2 separate regions of the Homo sapiens genome follow, and region 2 is linked to region 1. The links are contacts of gene promoters, found by promoter capture Hi-C in human tissues and cell types (Jung and others, 2019). All regions are on one chromosome and are shown on one strand. The core of a region is centred on a gene start or on the middle of the fragment in contact, and the rest is flanking DNA. Distances in the headings are between cores, read along the strand shown.

Region 1 (6,468 bases), core at 1,469-3,968:
CTCTGCCTACCATGAATATTATAAAATATTTTTTTCCATTCATTTTCTTTACACTTAAAAGTTGCGTAAGATGGCTCACGCCTGTAACCCAGCACTTTGGGAAGCCGAGATGGGTGGATCACAACAAGAGATCAAGACTATCCTGGCGAACATGGTGAAACCCCGTCTCTACTAAAAATACAAAAATTAGCTGGGTGTGGTGGCACGTGCCAGTAATCCCAGCTACTCAGAAGGCTGAGGCAGGAGAATTGCTTGAACCTGGGACGTGGAGGTTGCAGTGAGCCAAGATCATGCCACTGAACTTCCAGCCTGGTGACAGCGAGACTTCATCTCAAAAAAAAAAAAAATTGCATAAGATCATAATATTGTAAATATTCAGATCATAGTATTGTAAAACTAATCCTTTTCCTAATTTTTTTCCTTTTTTTTTTTGAGATGGAGTTTTGCTCTTGTTGCCCAGGCTGGAGTGCAAGGGCACGATCTCAGCTCACTGCAACCTCCGCCTCCTAGGTTCAAGCGATTCTCCTGCCTCAGCCTCCGGAGTATCTGGGATTACAAGCGCCACCACCACGCCAGGCTAATTTTGAATTTTTAGTAGAAATGGGGTTTCTTCATGTTGGTCAGGCTGGTCTTGAACTCCCGACCTCATGTGATCCGCCCGCCTCAGCCTCCCAAAGTGCTAGGATTACAGGCGTGAGCCACCGTGCCTGGCCCTTTTTCCTAAACATTGCATAAACATTGTGCTATATCATTAAAATCTCTTCATATATATATGATTATTTAATGGCAATACATTATTCCATGGTGTCCATGCGTCATAATCTTCTCAGCAACAATAAGGTATTTACATAATTTCCAATTTTTCCCAAGTTAAATGATACAAGACTACCTTTGTGCATATATGGTTAGATAAAATTATGCCTCATAATTTTCTGAAAATTTGTAAGATATTTACATTATGTCCAATTTTCCCCAGGTCTAGCTAAGACAAGAAATCTCTGTTCAGAAATACAGTTTGGTTGACTTGCTAAGGAGACTGGGCTGAGCACTGTGATAAGCCATCTTGCAGGGATACACTTAAGCACTTTGCAATCAATGGATGGAAGGAAGGAAACCTTTTCTTCTCTGGCAGATACTGAGATACCCATGGAACTAACAAGGAAACAAGGAAGTGAGACATGAAGTAGCTTGCATTGCTGACGATTCCTTAATGATGGAATAGGACTGACACCCAGAATGAAAGGATTTTCATAACAGATAATGTCACTGGTATGTGGAAAGTGCAAAAGTAACGACATAGACCTTCGTTAGAATCTTGACACTGTCGCTTAACAACAGTGACTTTAAGCGTGGGTTTTCTCATCTGAAAAATGGGAGGAGAGGTTTCTAATCCATGGTTTTTGTTTGTTTTTAATTTCTCCAAGAAAAAACACGGGCTTGTTATGAGAATTAAATGGGATGGTGCTCGTACCAGCACAGTCCCCCCTCCCCGCCAGTCCCCCAGCATGTTACCTGCTGGGTTCTTACTGAGGTACACTATTTAAACATGGACATATCTGAGCCCCACCTAGGAGATACTGAGTCATAACAGGGTGGGGTGGGGAGGATGGTGTTTAGGAAAATCTGTGCTTTTCACAGTAATGCAAGGAATACACCGCCAAGTTTGGGACCCAGTGTCTCCCAAACTGTTAACAGTAGCAGCTAACAAGCTGGGAGCTTACTATGTGCCAGATTTTCTGCAAACCCCTGGTAGATGGGTTCTCAAACTTCATGTGCTTCAGAGTTGCCCAGGCAGCTACGAAGGACAGCGGATCCCCAGCCCCACCCCCGAGATTGAATGGGTGGGGCCCAGAAAGCTGTTTTAAAATACACGCTCTCGCTCCCAGGTGGCTGGTTGCACTCAGTCTCTGGACCACACTTTGGGAAACAATGCACCGGGAGAAACCAGGGACTTGAAAAACGCTGATGTCCTCCTCGGTTAAATAAAAACTGAACCCCAAACCCAAATAAAGCGACCACGGCCCCGTTTTCCATTCAGATCTCCACCCTTAATGAGGAAAAGGCTTTGCAATGAGCCGGCAGGACCTCGTGAGACCTGGTGATTCCCCCAATCTCCAGGCTCTAATTTTGAGCCACTGAGGCAGAAGTTTTCCCATCAGTGTTGCCCCGTTTACCCTAGATTCCTCCCTTTCTCCTGCCCGCCCCAAACTCCGCCTGATGGGGCGGGAATGCCCTTAGGGGGTGGCGATTGTCTGAACGGCGTGCCCTCCCCCACTGTTCCCTTCCAAGGGGTCTCGCAAGGCTGGAGAGCGCCCCCGGTCTTGCGCCAGGTCGGGTGCGCCCCCACCCCAAGCCCACTCCGGCGCCCCCTGCACAGCGCGCCCGCCGCGGTCCCCGAGACGCGGCTCCGAGCCGTCACCCCGATTTCGGGGCCCCGGGCCTGCTGGCTGCGTCGCAGACGTGCTTGGGCCCGGGCCCCGGAGCGCGCACTGGGCCCCGGAGCGCGCACTGCTCCCGGAAAAGCACTTACTTTGCACCGAGCCCGCGAAGCTCTCGCCCTCGCTGCTCGCGTTCATGGCCGCAGACTGGGAGGTCCCCGGCCGGCCGGGATGCCAAAGTGGGGGACGCTGATCTACATGGTGCAAGGACTTTTCCTTTTATTTTTCCACACCCCCCACCCTGCCTTCTCCCAACTCTGCGAGGCGGGGAGGACGGATGTAAAGCAAGCTGCACTTCCGCTGCCTAGAGGGCGCTGGCCGGGCCCGGCGCCCCAACCTGGCTTTGCAGCAGCGGCTCCCCGGGGAAGCGGCGGGCGAATCCCGAGGCCCAGGCCCGCGGAGCCCCCCAACGCCCCCGGGGAGCTGGATGGCCACGCGCGTCCCGGCGTGCTGGGCGACCGCGGGTGGCGAGGGATGCGCCCCTGCCCGCACTCTGCGTTCTCCGCGGACGCGATTGGCCTCCCCGGCTCGGGGCGCCTTTTGCACCTGCAACCCCAGGCGTTGGGCCCCCAGCGCGGCCGTGCAGCAGCGCTGCTCCCGGGACGCCTGGGTGGTTTGCGGGGAGACCCACGTGCGGCTGCCGTTGCGGGGTGGGTGCGCGGGGCGCGGCGAGCTCCGGAGAAACCCAGGTTGGGCGTGAGCGCTGGGCAAATCAGCAAAGCGCTGGGCGGGTCCCTTGCCCCGCTAGGGAGACTGAGAGGACCGCGAAGAGGTGGGGTCGTAGCGCGGAGGGACCCCTGCTCCAGGAGCTGCCAACTTTATCGTGCATCGCAGTCGCCTGAAAGGCTTGTTAGAACACACGCTGTTGGGCCCACCCTAGCGTTTCTGCTTCAGTAGGTCTGGGGCGAGGCGTGAGAACGAGCATTTCTAAGTTCCCAGGTGATGCCCCTAGTGTTGGTCGGCGTCCACACTCTGAGGACAGTGACCTCTCTGCTCTGTCCCTCATGTCTTACTACTACTGTCTCCCCCGGGCTCCTGCGTCAGCCCTATTGTCTCTCTGCCGACCCTCCCAAGCCTCAGACCTCTCCCAGCCTCGAGGGATTTGCCCATAGAGTCTGTCCTGCTTCTGAAGGTCAGCATTCAAATTCACACTCAGGGAGGCCATGCTTGGCCTAATCTAATCATTCTAATATTGCAGCCCCCTCCTCCTCCCCCAACCACTCCCTGTCTCCTTCCTGTTTTTTTCTTTTTCTTTTTCTTTTCTTTTCTTTTCTTTTCTTTTCTTTTCTTTTCTTTTCTTTTCTTTTCTTTTCTTTTCTTTCTTTCTCTCTCTCTGCCTCTCTCTCTTTCTCCCTTTCTTTTTTTAGAGAGGGGGTCTTTCTCTGTCTCTCAGGCTGGAAGAGTGGTCGGATCCTAGCTCATTGCAGCCTCCAACTCCTGGGCTCAAGCAATCCCCCCTACAGGCGTGGGCCACCACCCTGGCTCACTTTTTAATTTTTATTTTTGTAGAGATGTTGCCCAGGCTGGTCTCGAATTCCTGGCCTCAAGCGATCCTCCATCAGCCTCCCAAAGTGCTGGGGTTACAGGTGTAAGCCACCATGCCTGGCCTGCTTTGTCCTTAAAAGGTGTTAGATGGAACATATTATGTATCTCGAGTATATCTGCTTAGATATAATTTAGTTGTATATTATCTGTGTTCTCCTCCCCCTTATTTTCAGTAAGTCCCTGTAAAAATGGGGATTAAAAAAATCTCTTTGCTTCACTGATGTAGTCCAGTGACTTGGCTGGTGCCTGACACATAGTAGGCTTAGTAAATATGGCTTGTATAATGAATGGGATTTTCCCTGCTGCTGCCTCTAAGGCTTGGTTTCTGCCTGCAGCAGCTGTTTATTCTCAAGTGTTTGTGAAGTGCCAGGCACTGGGCTAGCTGCTGGAGGTAGACCAGGGAGGCAGTCAACATGAAATAATCAAATCAGTACTGTAAATATATATATATTTAATATATAATATTTAATATATTTAATATATATTTATATTTATGTATATATATATTATATATAAATATATACAATATATATTATATATAAAATATTATATATTATATATTATATATTTATATATATAAAAAATATATATAAAACTTCCTTTTTTTTTTTTAACCTTAAGTTCTGGGATACATGTGCAGAACGTGCAGGTTTGTTACATAAGTATACATGTGCCATGGTGGTTTGCTGCACCTATCAACCCATCACCTAGGTTTTAAGCCCCACATGCATTAGGCATTTGTCCTAATGCTCTCCCTCCCGTTGCCCCCCACCCCCTGACAGGCCCTGGTGTGTGATGTTCCCCTCCTGTGTCCATGTGTTCTCAACATTTTGCTAGTGATAAGGGCTCCAAAGACCATAAAATGGGGCTGTAATAGTGGCTGTAGAACTGGTCATAGCAGGCCTTTCCGAGCAGGTAATATCTGAACAAGGAGCCGGGGAGGATGCAGCCATGTGAGGATGAGGGGGGAGCAATTCCAGCCTGAGGAACTGGTGGGAGCAAAAACCCTGGGGCAGGAATGAGCTAGATGTAACTGGCTGTGGCCTGCCAGTCCCACTGCAGATCACACCACTCTCACCCTGCATTGCCCAGGCAGCTCCACCAGGCTCCTTGCTGTTGTTGCTCCTCCCTCTGCCTGGATTGCTTTCCTGGTCTTTGCAGGACTGGCTATTTTAGGTCATCCAGCATCAAATGAAATGTCGCCTTCCCAGAGAGACCTTTCCTATGTCTTACCTAAAGTATTCACTCTCCCTGCGACTCTGCGACATCACCTTCATGATACCTGTCTAGCTAACATGACCCAGCAGAGCACCGCAGCTTACGGCAATATTTATTTTTTATTGCTTGATGAATGTTTACATATGTGCACACCTGGGAAGTCCCCTTCCAAGACACACATTTCCAGCCCTGGTCGGCTCCCTCATGCACCTTCCCAGCCAATAATACTATTCTGGCCAGGCAAGGTGGTTCATGTCTGTAATCCCAGCACTTTGGGAGGCCGAGGTGGGCGGATCACCTGAGGTCAGGAGTTCTAGACCAGCCTGGCCAATATAGTGAAACCCCATTTTCTTCAGTACAAAAATTAGCCAGGCTTGGTGGCGCACACCTGTAATCCCAGATACTCCAGAGGCTGAAGCAGGAAAATTGTTTGAACCCAGGAGGCGGAGGTTGCAATGAGCTGAGATGGAGCCACTGCACTCCAGCCTGGGTGATGGAGCGAGACTGTCTCAAAAAACTATAAATAAATAAAATAATACTATTCCTACTATCCAATCTTGCAGAGGTCACCATTCTAACTTTTATTGTCACGATTCCTTTTGTTGAGAGCAATATATCTCACATTTGCCTGAAGAGAAGCATCATCTGGAAGGCTCACTAAAGAATGAGTTCTTGGGTTCCAAGCTATGCTTACTGCATCAGAATTTTCTGGGGTAAGACTTGGTAATCTGCAAATATCTCAAAAGTGCCCCAGGTAATTCTTATCATGATGTAAGTCTGGGCCTTACTGGTTTGGTGGTTAAGTGTGTAGGCCCTGGAGTTAGGCTATGCCACTGCCATGCAAATCCTGGAGTTGCTGAACTAGGATTAGTTGCTTAACCTTGAATAGGAAATTCAACTGCTCTGTGTCCCGGTTTTCTGTAGCTTGGAGATAATAGTAGCACCTAGTTCATTAAGCTGTTTTGTAGGAGGAACCAATCAATATCTGTAAAGTGCTTAGAATAGTGCCTGACTCATATAACTCGGCATAAATCCTAGCTATTATTATCTTTTAATTATTTTTGGTTATTATCTGTCTCCCTACCATGTAAGCTCCAGGAGGGCATAGACCTGGCCTATTTTATTTACCTGTATCCTCTGGGGCCTAGAACAGAGCCTGGCACACAGGCATCCTCAGTTCATTTTTTATTGTGAAATGATTTCATGCATGTTTCCATGAGCTCCATTTTAACCTTTTGCTACTATGTCCAGCCAACCTTCTCTATTA
Region 2 (6,412 bases), core at 2,275-4,774, 1.3 Mb before region 1:
TCTATGTCAATGACTAGAACAAAGCAGGCACTCAATAAATTCAGACAGAATGAATGAATCTCTGCCTAGAAAAGGCTTACAGATATGACATCCAATAAATATTTGCAGTAAAAGAGGCGATGTATCAGATGTGTCACAAACTAAATCCTAGGAGGCTTCATGTTTAGTTCATTCTCAGCAGGGAGGGTGGCAACAGCTGCTGAGTTGGGGCCATTAACTTAGGTGAAGAATCTGCATTTACTGCAAAAGACTTCTGGCGCAGTTCCAGAGGCCGGAAAGCAAGGTGTTCTAGGAACTTCTTGCTCAACTCCACTGAGTCAGAATGGTTGCTATGTCAAGCTTCTGAGTAACAAGGAACGACATGATTGGAAAGGCAGGGTGAGGATAGGATGGGGATCTTGAATGTGAAGCTGGAGTCTGCTGCCATGTCTGGTAGGCACCGAGGAGATGCTGCAGGTAACGAAGTACAGAAGGGACATGATTCTAATGGCACTTTAAGAGGATTAATCCAGGCCGGGTGTGGTGGCTCATGCCTGAAATCCCAGCACTTTGGGAGGCCAAGATGGGCAGATCACGAAGTCAGGAGCTCGAGACCAGCCTGGCGAATATGGTGAAACCCCATCTCTACTAAAAATACAAAAATTAGCCGGGCGTGGTGGTGTGCGCCTGTAATCCCAGCTACTCAGGACGCTGAGGCAGAAAAATTGCTTGAATCCGGGAGGCGGAGGTTGCAGTCACTGCACTCCAGCCTGGGCAACAGAGCGAGATTCCACCTCCAAAAAAAAAAAAAAAAAAAAAAGAAAGAAAGAAAGAAAAAGAAAGCAGTGGCTCATGCCTGCAATCCCAGCACTTTGGGAGGCCAAGGCAGACAGATCACTTGAGGTCAGGAGTTTGAGACAAGCCTGACCAACATGGTGAAACCCATCTCTACTAAAAATACAAACATGAGCTCGGTGTGGTGGCCAGCGCCTGTAATCCCAGCTACTCGGGAGGCTGAGGCAGGAGAATTTCTTGCGCCCAGGAGGCAGAGGTTGAGATCGCGCCACTGCACTCCAGCCTGGACTCCATTAAAAAAAAAAAAAAAGCCTGGAGGAAGTCAATTAAGTAAAAGAGTAGATACCAGACCTACCCAACCCTCAGAATTACCTGAGGGACCTTACACCCATGCCACATCTTCTCAATCTAAGAGGTCTGAGAAACCATCACTGCCTTAGGTATGAGATAATAGGATACTGGGGTAAGAGTAAAACGAGGGGAAAAGAAAAGGTTCACAGGTGAAGCTTATAGCCTAAGTCAAAATTTGTGCTAATAATACTATTTTCCTGGACAAAAACTTACCTATCAGCCATATGTAAAAAATTTGTACCTTATAACTTCAAACCTCCTTAACAAGAGGTAGGGTGACATAGCACAGTAAAGCTTTTCTTTGCTAGAAAATAAAGATGCAGTGGTCCACCCTACAGTTAGACAGATCTGTATTTAAATCCTTGCTCTGCCACTTACAAGCTTTGTGATCCTACACATGTTATTTAACCTCTAGAGGTCTGTTTTCTTATGGCATAAGCAGAAGGACACTATCTCATTGTTTTAATGGCAGAAGGATTAAATGAGATGATGCAAGTTAATGCTTAAGTCAGTTACCATTATCACCTTAAACCAGATGAGATACTAAAATAATCACTTTCAAAATTCTGAGTTCACACCAGGGCATAACCTCTCCAAAAAGCTCAAACTATTATGACTGAGAATCAGATGTGGTTGCCATAACAACATCTGTTCCTGTACACATTACAATGCATCATGCACAGTAGTGTTTTTATACAATATTTTACATCTGTGTGAGCCATTCATACTCAGGTTTGCATATTCTTAACAAGCTCAGTGACACTTAAAATATTTAGGCAACTGAACATCTGCAACTATCTTAAATAAACCCAGGTGACTTACAGTTATGTAGAAACATAAAGGTGTCATCTAGATTTTGCGTATCTTAAGTTTTAAAAAATATGTGGAGTCACTGGTCTTTTAGGAAGATTTTCAGACTACAAGACTGGTGCCCACAACTGGAAAACTGCTACTGTGTTGCTGCTTATCCTGATACTTTCCGTATTCAGATTTCAGGCAAGAATTCTAGCAGTGACCACCAGAATTTCCAGTACACCAGTAGAACCAGTTGTTTTCAGGCTGAACTCCTCTAAGAGTTTAAGATATGTATACAAACAGAGGGAAGATGATGCCTGAGGGACAAGGTGAAAGCTGGGCAGCCAGAGGTCTGGCCCCCCGACCCTTCATCAATTTAAGAGTTCACCTAAAATTGTATTTGAAAGCGGGGGAAGATGCCTCGGTACTTAAACAAGAAAAACAGACTGAGGATACTTTATAATATACCAATTTAGATTTAGGGAGAGTGTGAGGTGAGGAGCACTTCCCAGTTTACTTCACTCTAAACAGGTATTGCAGCAAGGCAGGGACACAGCATAAAGAGTGATTCTAGCACTCCACTGCCTACATAAGAACTCCACAGGCATACAGCCACTTGCTGTCGCTGTAAGTGGACAATCTGGCTTAAGATCAATGTGAAAAAGGGAAATAATTCACAAGTAGCCCTTAAGGGGTGCTTTAGGGGAAAACTCTCAAACTTTGTTTTTCCTCTGCCCTCACACCACACAGAAGTCGTGAAGTTGTCTTCTGTGACCAAACGTGTAGGGTTTTTTCCCAAGCAGCGGACACCAGCTGAGTATCCTCTAATTTGGTTCTGACACTGTCTACCTGGATACAGTGTCATATTCCACAAGATGGGGGCTCAGTCCCCAAAACTGCTCTCTCCTTCTTCAGACTCCAACTGTAAGTCTGGGCCTCCAGAACTTCTGACTGACACTTCAAGCTGGGGTTCCCAAGACCCCCTCCTTGAGTTCTATTAATTTGCTGGAGCATCTCACAAAACTTGGGGAAACACTTATGTTTACCGGTTTATTATAAAAAGTACAGATAAAGAAATGCGTAAGGGCACTGGGCTTCCATACCCTCTCTGGGGGCGCCACCCTCCAGGTGTGTTCAACTATCTGGAAGCTCTCTGAACCCAGTCCTCCTGCGTTTTTTTTTTTTTTTTTTAAAGACAGAATCTCACTCTGTCCCCCAGGCTGGAGTGCAGTGGTGCAATCTCGCCTCACTGTAACCTCTGCCTCCCGGGTTTGAGCAATTCTCCAGCCTCAGCCTCCTGAGTAGCTGGGATTATAGGCCCCCACCACTAAACCCAGCTAATTTTTTTTGTATTTTTAGTAGAGATGGGGTTTCACCACGATGGCCAGGCTGGTCTCAAACTCCTAAACTTGTGATTTGCTCGCCCCCAGCCTCCCAAAATGCTGGGATTACAGGCGTGAGCCACCGCGCCTGGCCCTCCTGGGTTTTTATAAAAGCTTCATATAGGAAACCTTACTTCCCTTCCCCGGGGTATAGGGCCAACACCCTCTCTCTAGAGAGGATCTCAAGACCTACAATCAGAAAGCTGGGTAAAGATCAGAATCTTGCCTTGGGACACGTGTAAGGAGAGCAGGAGAAGATCAGAGATTATTTTCTGAGACCTAACGTACCCTATATTATAACAAAACACGGTAATGGGGTTATGGGTGTTATGAGCCAGGAACCGTGGTGGATGAAAACCAGTATGTATCACAACACCACAAGAGGACACGCAGATATGTCCATTTATAAATTATTTCAGAAGCATGCCAAGTCTTTGTATCTAAATGACATAAAACGTTATTTTGATCCCCTAATAATACATTTTTATGCTCTACCGAAACTACTCAGAAATAATTTCCCACAATAGGAAATATATTTCTTTCACTATTCTTGAGTAACAGAATATTTAAACTATGTTCTCAAGTTTTTCGAAGCCATTTCCCAGGATCAAGGCTTCACCGAAGGTAGCTTTTCAAAAGCGTTCTTGTACCAGGTTTTGCCACTTGATGGCTCAAGTTTTCACACTTTCCTCAGAGAAGTTTTATTTGCATTTTTTTTGGTTGCTGTTTTTTATTTTTATTTTTTTTTGAGACTGAGTCTCACTCTGTCACCCAGGCTAGAGTGCAGTGGTGCCATCTTGGCTCACTGCAACCTCCGCCTCCCAGGTTCAAGTGATTCTCCTGCCTCAGCCTCCCAAGTAGCTGAGACTACATGTGAGTGCCACCACACCAGGATAACTTTTGTATTTTTAGTAGAGATGGGGTTTCACCATGTTGGCCAGGCTGGTCTTGAACTCCTGACCTCAGGTGACCCGCCAGCCTTGGCTTCCCAAAGTGCTGGGATTACAGATGTAAGCCACCGCACCCATCCTCTTGTTGCTGTTTTTAAGTGTAACTGATCTTGAAGCAGGATTCTGAGCACTTCTTGCATTTGGATACTCCCAGTCTCAGCTCACTTCTTTCACAAGAGCAAGGATTCTGTCAACCTAAATTTATAATTCGAATTGAAAATTTTAATAAATTCCACCATATTTCCACTAGACAGGAGTTTCTCAAAAGAGACCACTCAAAAGGTTCTCAGGTCATGAGCTTCCACCAGAAGAGCAGAGCTTTACAGATTGTCAACTGAAGCACAGGTTTCCACAAGCTCTTAAATGGAGCATGAAGGATTCAGAAAAAGAAAGGGTAAAAGCCAGCAATTATCTAAGAAAAAAGTAACTGCTCAGGACAGACTGACTGTCTTAAACTAAAAAACTGGGAAAAGAAAAGGGAACATAAACAACGTTTCTTTTTAGATTCTTATACAGTTAACTTCCCAGCAGAAATATGCTACTCCAATTAACTGCCACCTGCACAATTTACACCCATACTCTCCCTGCTGGGGGTGTGGCTAGCTTCTTTACATGTAGACGCCATTGGAATCCTTGGGTTTAAGCTCACATGGAAGCATAAAACCTCACTGTGAAATGGGAAGCATTCATGTGAGCCCCCATTAGCCAAACAGCTTACAAGAGCACCATAAAGGCCTGTGTTGCAAGCACAGGCCTGGGAACCAGCCCAGACATACTCTGTGGCTCATTTCATCATTGTATGTGGTAGTGCCTTGATTTCCCTACTTGTGAAACAAGGATAGTCCTGAGAAAATTGGGAATAGTTTATAAAGTGCTTGGAAAATAAAACAGACAAGCCACCAATACTATAATACCATAAAGGCCAGCAAGGGGGCCTTTACACTTAAGCAGCACATCCTTATTAAAGTCATCACAGTCACATGAGAAGTGACATATAAACACAACCCACAGCTAAGTGACTCAATTACAAATCTATACCCTTACTGAAGAGGGTATTAGGATATGCAGATTCATTTTTAATTCTAACAGCTGGTCAAATAATGCATGACTCTTTTAGATTACGTGTATGCTTTTAAATTAAATCTTTAACTTAAATCTAAAACTGTGGCATATATTCAGAGCAGGCTTCCCTTTGTAAACTCCATCCAACGTTGTCTATGCTTTCCTCTTATTTTCTAAATCTTTATTTCCAGAACACTGCTGAAATTCTTGAGAGGTTCCAGGCTTTCTCTAGCTGCTGTCTTGGAACCAAGGTAGGGATCAATAATACCAAAGCTTGTGAGTGAAATCTCAAGGAACTCCTTAAGGCAGAGGACTGAATTAATACACAGAGATGACAGGACCCAGGACTAAAAACAGTAATATGAATTTTGCATTTTTCATTGATTAGAATAAAAAAACGTGTGCCCTGCAATCAAAACTGTCACTTTCCACAGTTGGCTCAATTTTTATCTGTGACTTCCTATACACACACACACACACACACACACACACTACATAATCAAGTTGGCTCATATATACCAACTTGAGAAGCATGATAATATGTGAGGAGAGCCTTCTCATTCCAGTGAAGCAGAATATGAATTCTCACTTAAGCTGACCCCAAAACTGGCAGATCGCAAAGGTAGGTCATAACATAACGCAGGTGTAGGGAGTACTAAGACACTGAGAGGATGAAGGAACATAATCATCCTCTCCTCACTTTCTAATAAACAGGATCAGACAAACAACAAAAAACCATGAAATCACAATGGCCACCCACAATGGGCAAAGCATGGACGGTTTATCAAATAAAGTATCTCAACAATCAAGGTGGAAAGTGCCAAAGTAAAAACAAGAAACAGCTTTTACATTCAAAGTATCAATTCAGTTAATTAGCATGGGGCTTTGGTTTATACTAGTTTCAAACACCGAGTTTCCAAACTAACAACATAGAAGGTGTTAACTGGCAGTGAGGTACATCAGCAAAATACGGCATTTACTCCAGTTACTATCACAAGCTCTTACAAAACTAGGAGAGGGGCTGGGAGCGGTGGCTCACGCCTATAATCCCAGCACCTGGGGAGGCCAAGGCAGGCGGATCACCTGAGGTCAGCAGTT

What was found. The method cuts DNA at HindIII sites, captures the fragments that hold promoters and counts their contacts. A contact is called where the count stands out against the background at its distance.
Region 2: a contact is called between a fragment that was not itself captured here and the fragment with the promoter of ZFP64 in region 1, in 1 of the 25 tissues and cell types used here (hippocampus).

What each region holds. Positions count from the first base shown.
Region 1 is chr20:52,189,061-52,195,528 of GRCh38, forward strand. It overlaps ZFP64 (ZFP64 zinc finger protein), which reads right to left and starts at 2,719. Exons shown (of 6, transcript NM_018197.3): 1 at 2,531-2,719. The coding sequence starts at 2,576. RefSeq lists enhancers at 1,574-2,430, 3,471-3,600 and silencers at 2,191-2,430, 2,791-3,060. The HindIII fragment of the contact is 31,514 bases long and covers 1-6,468 here.
Region 2 is chr20:50,919,486-50,925,897 of GRCh38, forward strand. All of the region lies in intron 2 of ADNP (activity dependent neuroprotector homeobox), which reads right to left. Among named protein-coding and RNA genes, the nearest start is that of ADNP-AS1, 8.3 kb to the right of the region's middle. RefSeq lists an enhancer at 5,964-6,412. The HindIII fragment of the contact is 7,393 bases long and covers 1-6,412 here.